Linked DNA regions of Homo sapiens: region 1 is linked to region 2. Evidence: promoter capture Hi-C in 16 types of primary human blood cells and fetal thymus (Javierre and others, 2016). All regions are on one chromosome and are shown on one strand. The core of a region is centred on a gene start or on the middle of the fragment in contact, and the rest is flanking DNA. Distances in the headings are between cores, read along the strand shown.

The links. The method cuts DNA at HindIII sites, captures the fragments that hold promoters and counts their contacts. A CHiCAGO score of 5 or more calls a contact.
Region 1: a contact is called between a fragment that was not itself captured here and the fragment with the promoter of BAIAP2L1 in region 2, in 1 of 17 cell types (total B cells). The highest score is 5.7, in total B cells.

What each region holds. Positions count from the first base shown.
Region 1 is chr7:98,202,133-98,205,837 of GRCh38, reverse strand. LMTK2 (lemur tyrosine kinase 2) reads right to left here. Exons shown (of 14, transcript NM_014916.4): 12 at 2,132-2,264; 13 at 1,652-1,894; 14 at 1-374. The coding sequence ends at 346. Among named protein-coding and RNA genes, the nearest start is that of BHLHA15, 7.5 kb to the left of the region's middle. RefSeq lists an enhancer at 2,066-2,245. The HindIII fragment of the contact is 3,380 bases long and covers 1-3,102 here.
Region 2 is chr7:98,399,660-98,403,022 of GRCh38, reverse strand. It overlaps BAIAP2L1 (BAR/IMD domain containing adaptor protein 2 like 1), which reads left to right and starts at 1,933. Exons shown (of 14, transcript NM_018842.5): 1 at 1,933-2,221. The coding sequence starts at 2,171. RefSeq lists a silencer at 1,600-2,259. The HindIII fragment of the contact is 3,647 bases long and covers 1,111-3,363 here.

The DNA of each region.
Region 1 (3,705 bases), core at 163-2,662, 200 kb after region 2:
GAAAGCACACATGCGGTGCACACAGCTCCACACGCGCGCGCACATGGAGGCTGTGCCCCTGCCTCCCCCGACGGCCAGCGCATGAGCACTGCCTGGGAGGCCGCGGCCGCGGGTGCACGGGGCACTGAGGGACGCCGGCTCCTGGACACGGCCTCGCTCTGCACCTGGGCTCCCGAGGGCCCCGCCTTGAACGCAGCTAAGAGCCGTCTCCCTCTTCACCTCTGGATTCTTCCTCCCAATCTCATGTCAGCAAATGGCGAGTGGATGTCGCTGCTCGGGCTGAGGGCGCAGGGGCGCCGCTCCAGGGGAGCAGCCTCGGACCCGAGCGTGCGCGTTGGCAGCCACCTAGTCCTTTTCTCCGTCTTCGCTGCTTCCTGTTGAGGAGAGAGGAAGCGAGACGACAAAGCTGGGTTTTTAAAATGATCAGACAGGCATGGCGTGGATGGCATGTGCGCTGCACCACAGGAACGGAAGCGGGTGTTTTGAGCCCAGCACCGCCTGAGCCGCCCTTCCTGTCCTTTCCTTCGGAAGCAGCCCCTGCCTGACTCTCCCACATCTGCTAGGCTCAAATGCCCGCTGGGCGCTAAGGGTCAGGGTGCAGAAGAAGTCAGCTGGGATCCACACATCTGCCCCGACAGACTGGCAGATAGCAGGTGTTATCTAATCGGCACAAATGAAGCCTAGCGCCGAGGGAAATAAAGCCTCTTTGTATTCCATATTTATTATTTGATCTGTAAACTTCCAATCAAAAAATGAGCCTATTAACCTTTATCTTTCAATCTAGTGACGGGGAAAGAAGGCTCCCTATGTTCAGATACCTCGACTTCAAATGGCCCCTGCCCATTCACCCCACCCCGCCCTCGGGAGCCACACCAGGACCAAGACTCAGCAGCAAAACCAACATTCCAGGGGCAGCACCAGAGGGCATGTGGGCTGGTCCCAAGTCCAGGGGTCAAGTGCTCTTACGAGCCTGCTGAAGAGCAGGTTCTCTCTGGGAAAGGAGGAGACAGAGTGCGGAGGAGGGACTATGCAGCCACAGGAGAAAAAGAGGAGATGGCGCGCAGCCTGGGCGTTCCTGGGACCCAGAGCCCCTCTGCCTCAGCCTGGCCCCACAGGGTGGCCGGTAACGAGCCTGAGAGTGACCACAACAGGCAGGGGGCATGGCCCCGAGAGCACACTCAGGATGCTGGCAGTTTTATTTATTTATTTTAGAGGCAGGGTCTTGCTCTGTCACCCATGCTGGAGGGCAGTGGCACAATCATAGGTCACTGTAGCCTTGAACTCCTGGGCTCAAGCATTCCTCCCACCTCAGCCTCCTGAGTAGCTGAAGTGCAGGTGCACACCACCACATCCAGCTAATTTTTTAGTTTTTATTTTTTTTAGAGATGGGGTCTCACTATGTTGCCCAGGCTGGTCTCACACTCCCAGGCTCAACTGATCCTCCCACCTCAGCCTCCTGAGTAGCTGGGATTACAGGCAGGAGTCACTGCACCCAGCTGATGATGGGAGTTTTATAAAAACAAGTTTGTAATCTACTCAGCAAATGTGAAGAAGACATGAGATTATCAGGCCTGCAAAACCACCATCTCCCAGCTGCAGCGCCCCACCCCCGACCCTGCACTCCCAATCCCCAGCACGCAGCGCCTCTCACCGCCCTGCTCGATGTCCGAGTCGGTCAGGTGTGTGAGGGAAAAGCTGGCAATGTTGGCGGGAGAGATGGAGAACCGGGAGTAAGGCGCCGAGTGCGGCCAGCTCTGCTCCGTGCTCCGGGCCGGTGGCGGCGGAGAAAAGTACTTGGATGTTTGGAGAGAAGGCTTGGAGCTGAGCAGGTTACTTGTTGTCTTTGACATAAAAGGATCTGGGGAGAAGTCATCATCCCACTCAAAGCCACCACCTAGAAATAAAAAATAAAACCCCACCCTTTTTATCACTGCGTGATGAGGGAGAGGGGGAGCCTCTGGGCAGGTGCGCCCTGCAGGTCGGAAGACACAGCCCGGCCCGGCTGGCAGATGGCAGTTCTGTGCCCATGTCAGGGGGCGTCATTAAAGCAACATGGGAAGTTACCCTCAAAAAACCTTTACATTACTCAATTTTTCAGTTTCCTTTAAAACTAGACAATGACGTGAAATACCTTCTTCGTCGGTGGAGCTTTCGGAGTTGATGCACCTGCTCAGGTAGGGAGAGCCTGAGGCTGGGGCTGGGCCGCTCAGGTCCGGGCCGCACGCCTCTCCTCCACAGGGCCCCAGCTCTTTGGTTGGGGTCTCCTGAAAAGTCAAACAGAAACTCCTGTCAGCAAAGGCCTGCTCACGGGAACCCCCCGTGTGACCGCTTCCCCACTGGCAGGCGCATCAGACTCATCGACTGAGAAGTAAGCGTCTCAAGACAAGGGCGGCTCCAGGCCTGGGAGGACGGACAGACACTAGGCCCTGTCTCTCCCTCTGCCTGCAGCTCTGACCTCGGCAGAGGCATGAAGCAGCCCTCTGAGGCTGCAGAGAAGCGCAGAGCAGCAGGCAGGCGGGCACGAGCGGCAGTGCTCAAGGTGCCACCCACCAGCAACAAGTGTGTCGGCTTCTCCTCCACAATCCCCCGCCTGGACTCAGGTCAGCCCGGAATCCAAAGTGGGCACTGCCCTGGACACAGTGCTCCAGGAGAAGCCCTTGGTTCTGGCTTCGGAGCAGGAAGGGGGTCTTCTGATGCTCAGAAAGAGAAGGGGGAATTCCAGCTTTCTTCTTTTCTCTGTTCTCTTGCTCTCCAGTCTCAAGCAATCCTGGGGCAACAGCTGCCTATAATCCTGAGGGCCATGAAGCCTCCTCTCCACTGGAGGACTGTGATCACGAGCGGGAGGGGACCCTCGCTGAGTTTTTTTCCCTTCTGTCCTCCCACTGCTTGGCTCCAGATGCGCGTGCGATTGCAGGAAGTATGGCACATCGTGTAACTAAAGCCTCAACTTTCTAGCTAGGGGACCAGAAAGCAGAGGCCCAAAGAACTGCAAGTATCAGGGACATCACAGAAGAGGGAGGAGCTCAAAAAGGTGACCCGATGAAGTTGCTGGGGGGCTCCTGGGCTGTGTGTGGTAGATCTGACTCTGAACACACCCAAGCTTTGAAAATGAACCTCAGGGGAGACCGGGGTGGGGTGCGGGGCACACACGTGGGGCAGGTTCAAACAGCACAGCGAAGGCTTTGAAAGGGGAACTGGGAGCTGACACTGAAACCACAACCCACAGAAGGCTGCTTGGAGCTTGTGGCCTGCACCCACCGGGTCAAGGCCTGCTAAGGTAAAAGTATCAACATGATTCACAGCATTTACACATGGCACAGACTGCCTAACATGATAGGAGGATCCAAAAGCTAAAATTACTTCACATACAAAAACCAGGAACACCTCAATTTACCTGGGAAAAGACAATCAACAGGTGCCAGTGTCACCGTACCACAGATGTTGGAATTATCTGAAAAAGGACTATTATAAAAATGCTCCTACAACTAAGGGGAAACACTCTTACCATGAACAGAAATAGGGAAAATCTTAGCAAAGGAACAGATGATAAGAAGAATGACAAAAAGCAAAACTCAGAAAAGAAAAGTATAATAACCAAAATCTAGCAATTCAATGGATGGGCTCAACAGCATAATGGAGATGACGAAGGAAATCATCAGGGACCTTGAAGACAGAGCAACAGAAATCACCCAATCCAAACAAGAG
Region 2 (3,363 bases), core at 684-3,183:
GAGATGGGGGTGGGCTCCCTATATTGCCTAGGCTGGCCTCGAACTCCTAGACTCAACCAGTCCTCCTGCCTTGGTCTCCCGAAGTGCTCGGATTACAGGCATGAGCCATCCTGCCTGGCCCCCAGATAGAAGCTTTTTGTTTGTTTGTTTTTGAGACAGAGTTTCGCTCTTGTCCCTCAGGCTGGAGTGCAGTGGTGCTATCTCAGCTCACTGCAATCTCTGCCTCCCAGGTTTAAGCAATTCTCCTGCCTCAGCCTCCCGAGTAGCTGAGATTACAGGTGCACGTGCTACCATGCCTGGCTAATTTTTGTATTTTTAGTAGAGACGGGGGCAGGGCGGTTTCACCATGTTGGCTAGGCTGGTCTCGAACTCCTGACCTCAAGTGATCCGCCTGCCTTGGCCTCCCAAAGTGCTAGGATTACAGGCATGAGCCACCAAGCCCAGAGGTTTTAAAAAATCAGAATAAGACCTCTGCCCTTGTTGGGTGCGGGTCTCAGGTAGCTAAATGGTGGTTCTTACTGGGGAGAAGGCTGTCACCCAGCCCAAGGTACATAATCCTGGAAGAGAGGCCCAAAGAAGGCAGCTGCCTCACCCTTGGGCAGGGCTGAGGCCGGGATGGAGACAAAATAGGGAGCCCAGGAGCCACACACCTCCACAGAGTTTGAGTGATGACAAGAAGAGAGGCTTCCCTAACACTTCAGCTCAGGTGGTTTTCTAAACCCTACAACAATCTCGTGAGTAGCATGGTTACACTGCATTGAGTTAAAGGTCGTTGTTAATGTAAAGTTTAAAAATGTACTACTGGGCCGGGCGCGGTGGTTCAAGCCTGTAATCCCAGCACTTTGGGAGGCTGAGCAGGGCGGATCACCTGAGGTTAGGAGCTCGGGACCAACCTGGCCAACATGGTGAAACCCCGTCTCTACTAAAAATACAAAAAAATTAGCCTGGCTTGGTGGCACGTGCACCTGTAATCTCAGCTACTCGAGAGGCTGAGGCAGGAGAATTGCTTAAACCTGGGGGGCAGAGATTGCAGCAAGCTGAGAGAGCACCACTGCACTCCAGCCTGAGGGGACAAGAGTGAAACTCTGTCTCAAAAACAAACAAAAAGCTTCTATCTGGGGGCCAGGCAGGATGGCTCATGCCAGGCAGGAGAATCGCTTGAACCTGGGAAGCGGAGGTTGCAGCAAGCTGAGATCGCACCACTGCACTCCAGCCTAGGCGACAGAGTGAGACTCCATCTCAAAAAAAAAAAAGTACTAACATTTCGGTAACTAGACCCTGGCATTTATTAATTTTTTGATATATCAGGAGCTTTCAAAACTGCAAGTGGCAGCCCGTTTTCTCCACCTAGGAGGGCCGATGCCCCCACGGGTCCCTCTAACTTTTGGGGTCAGTGAGCGGCGGGGCAAGAAGAGATCAATCAGGGAAATCAATACAACTGGGGAATGTGGCCCCTTCCCTTGGTCCCCAAAACGCAGGGCTTGAAGGAAGCCCTCATGGAGGAAGTGGGCCTCGGGGTCCCCGGGGCCAGCACCACGCGAGGCAAACAAGGGCTCCAGGACCACAGTCTAAACACCCCCAGGCTGCCCTTGCCCTAGCAAAACAGCAAAGCGAGCAGCCCACTCCACACCGGTCCCCACTCCAGGGTCTCGGGCCCTACGTCGCCGGAGCTCTGGGAGAGCCGCGAGGGGGCGCACCGTGGCCTCGCTGCCCTGTCCGCCACAGGTGGGGTGACCCCGCCCACTCGGGGGGCCCGCTTCCCTCTGGCCACGCCCATTCCAGCTGCCTGGCCCCGCCTCCTCCCCGCCCACCCCGGCCGGGCCCCGCTCACCAGGCCGCCTCAGGTGGGTACGCCACGCCCCTCCGGCCCTGCGGCCCCGCCCCCGTCTGCCCCGCCCGCCTCAGGTGGGGCCGCCCGGCCCGCCCAGCTTCCTCTGGCGGCGTCCGGCCGCTTCTCCTCTGCTCCTCGAAGAAGGCCAGGGCGGCGCTGCCGCAAGTTTTGACATTTTCGCAGCGGAGACGCGCGCGGGCACTCTCGGGCCGACGGCTGCGGCGGCGGCCGACCCTCCAGAGCCCCTTAGTCGCGCCCCGGCCCTCCCGCTGCCCGGAGTCCGGCGGCCACGAGGCCCAGCCGCGTCCTCCCGCGCTTGCTCGCCCGGCGGCCGCAGCCATGTCCCGGGGGCCCGAGGAGGTGAACCGGCTCACGGAGAGCACCTACCGGGTAAGCCCAGGGCCCGGGGCTCAGGGAGGTCAGGGCTTTCCACCTCGGGGTTCAGAAGGGGACTTTACGCGGGAAGGTACTTTCCCTCCCTCCAGCTCCCCTCCCCCGCGTCCTTCCACCTCTCCCGGTCTCTCCCACTCCTCCCCTGGCCCTCCACAGCCCCTCTTCTTCCTCCCCTGGCCCTCTCCTTCCTCCCAGTCCCTCCCCATCCCCTCCCCCCTACTTTTCCTCCTCCTTCCCTCCCCTCCTCCCTGTGCTTCTTCCCTGTCTCTCTTTCCCGCCCCGCTGTACCTCTCCCTCTGCCCCTCCGCTCCCCGTTCACTCTCCCTCCTCCCCTGCCCCTCGACACTGTCCCTCCCCTCCTCCTGGTTCTTCCTTCTCCCCCGTGTGTCTCCCCCTCCTCCCCTGTCCCTTCTTCTCCCCAGTCTATCCCCCTCCCTCCCCCTCCCCCTCCCCCTCCTCTTGGTTCTTCCTCCTTCCCCGTGTGTCTCCCCCTCCTCTCCTGGCCCTTCTCCGCCTCCCCTGTCCCTTCTCCTCCCCGTCCCTTCTCCTCTTCCCTGACCCTCAGAGCTCTGGAGACCACCCCCCATCCCCTGACCAGCTACACATTTTACAACTAGTGCACTTAAGTTGGGGAGGGGTCTGTTGTGCGTCGGTGGGGCCCACGTCCTCCTCCCAACTTCTTGGAATCAGTGACCCGTGCTGTCCTGGCTGCCGGGCTTAAGCCCTCCGGGACCAAAGACACAAGCTCGAGTTTCCTCTAAGAAAAGAAAGCGCCCAAGAATGTGGGGGTGAAACTCCCCTGTAATTAGGATCGCCAGGTGAGCCGAGCTCTGGGCGTTCTCCCGGGAAACGCCCTCCTCCTTAGACCCTTCCTCTCCCACCTTTCAGTTGAACTTGGCTTTTATATATGGGTTATTTGGTGAGGTTCTTGAAGTCAAAGAACAACCGAGGTTTTAATGAAATTGACCTAACCTTAAGGAATGCGTTGATAGCCGGTCTCTTAACTTGCATGTATTAGGAGAGAATTTTTCCAGACACAGACAGAGACTTAGGATTAGTGGCCTGTTTAGTTTACATACTTACAAATGAATTCCAGGTGAAATAAGATATCTGTTAATCATCTGCTATTAATAGAACAC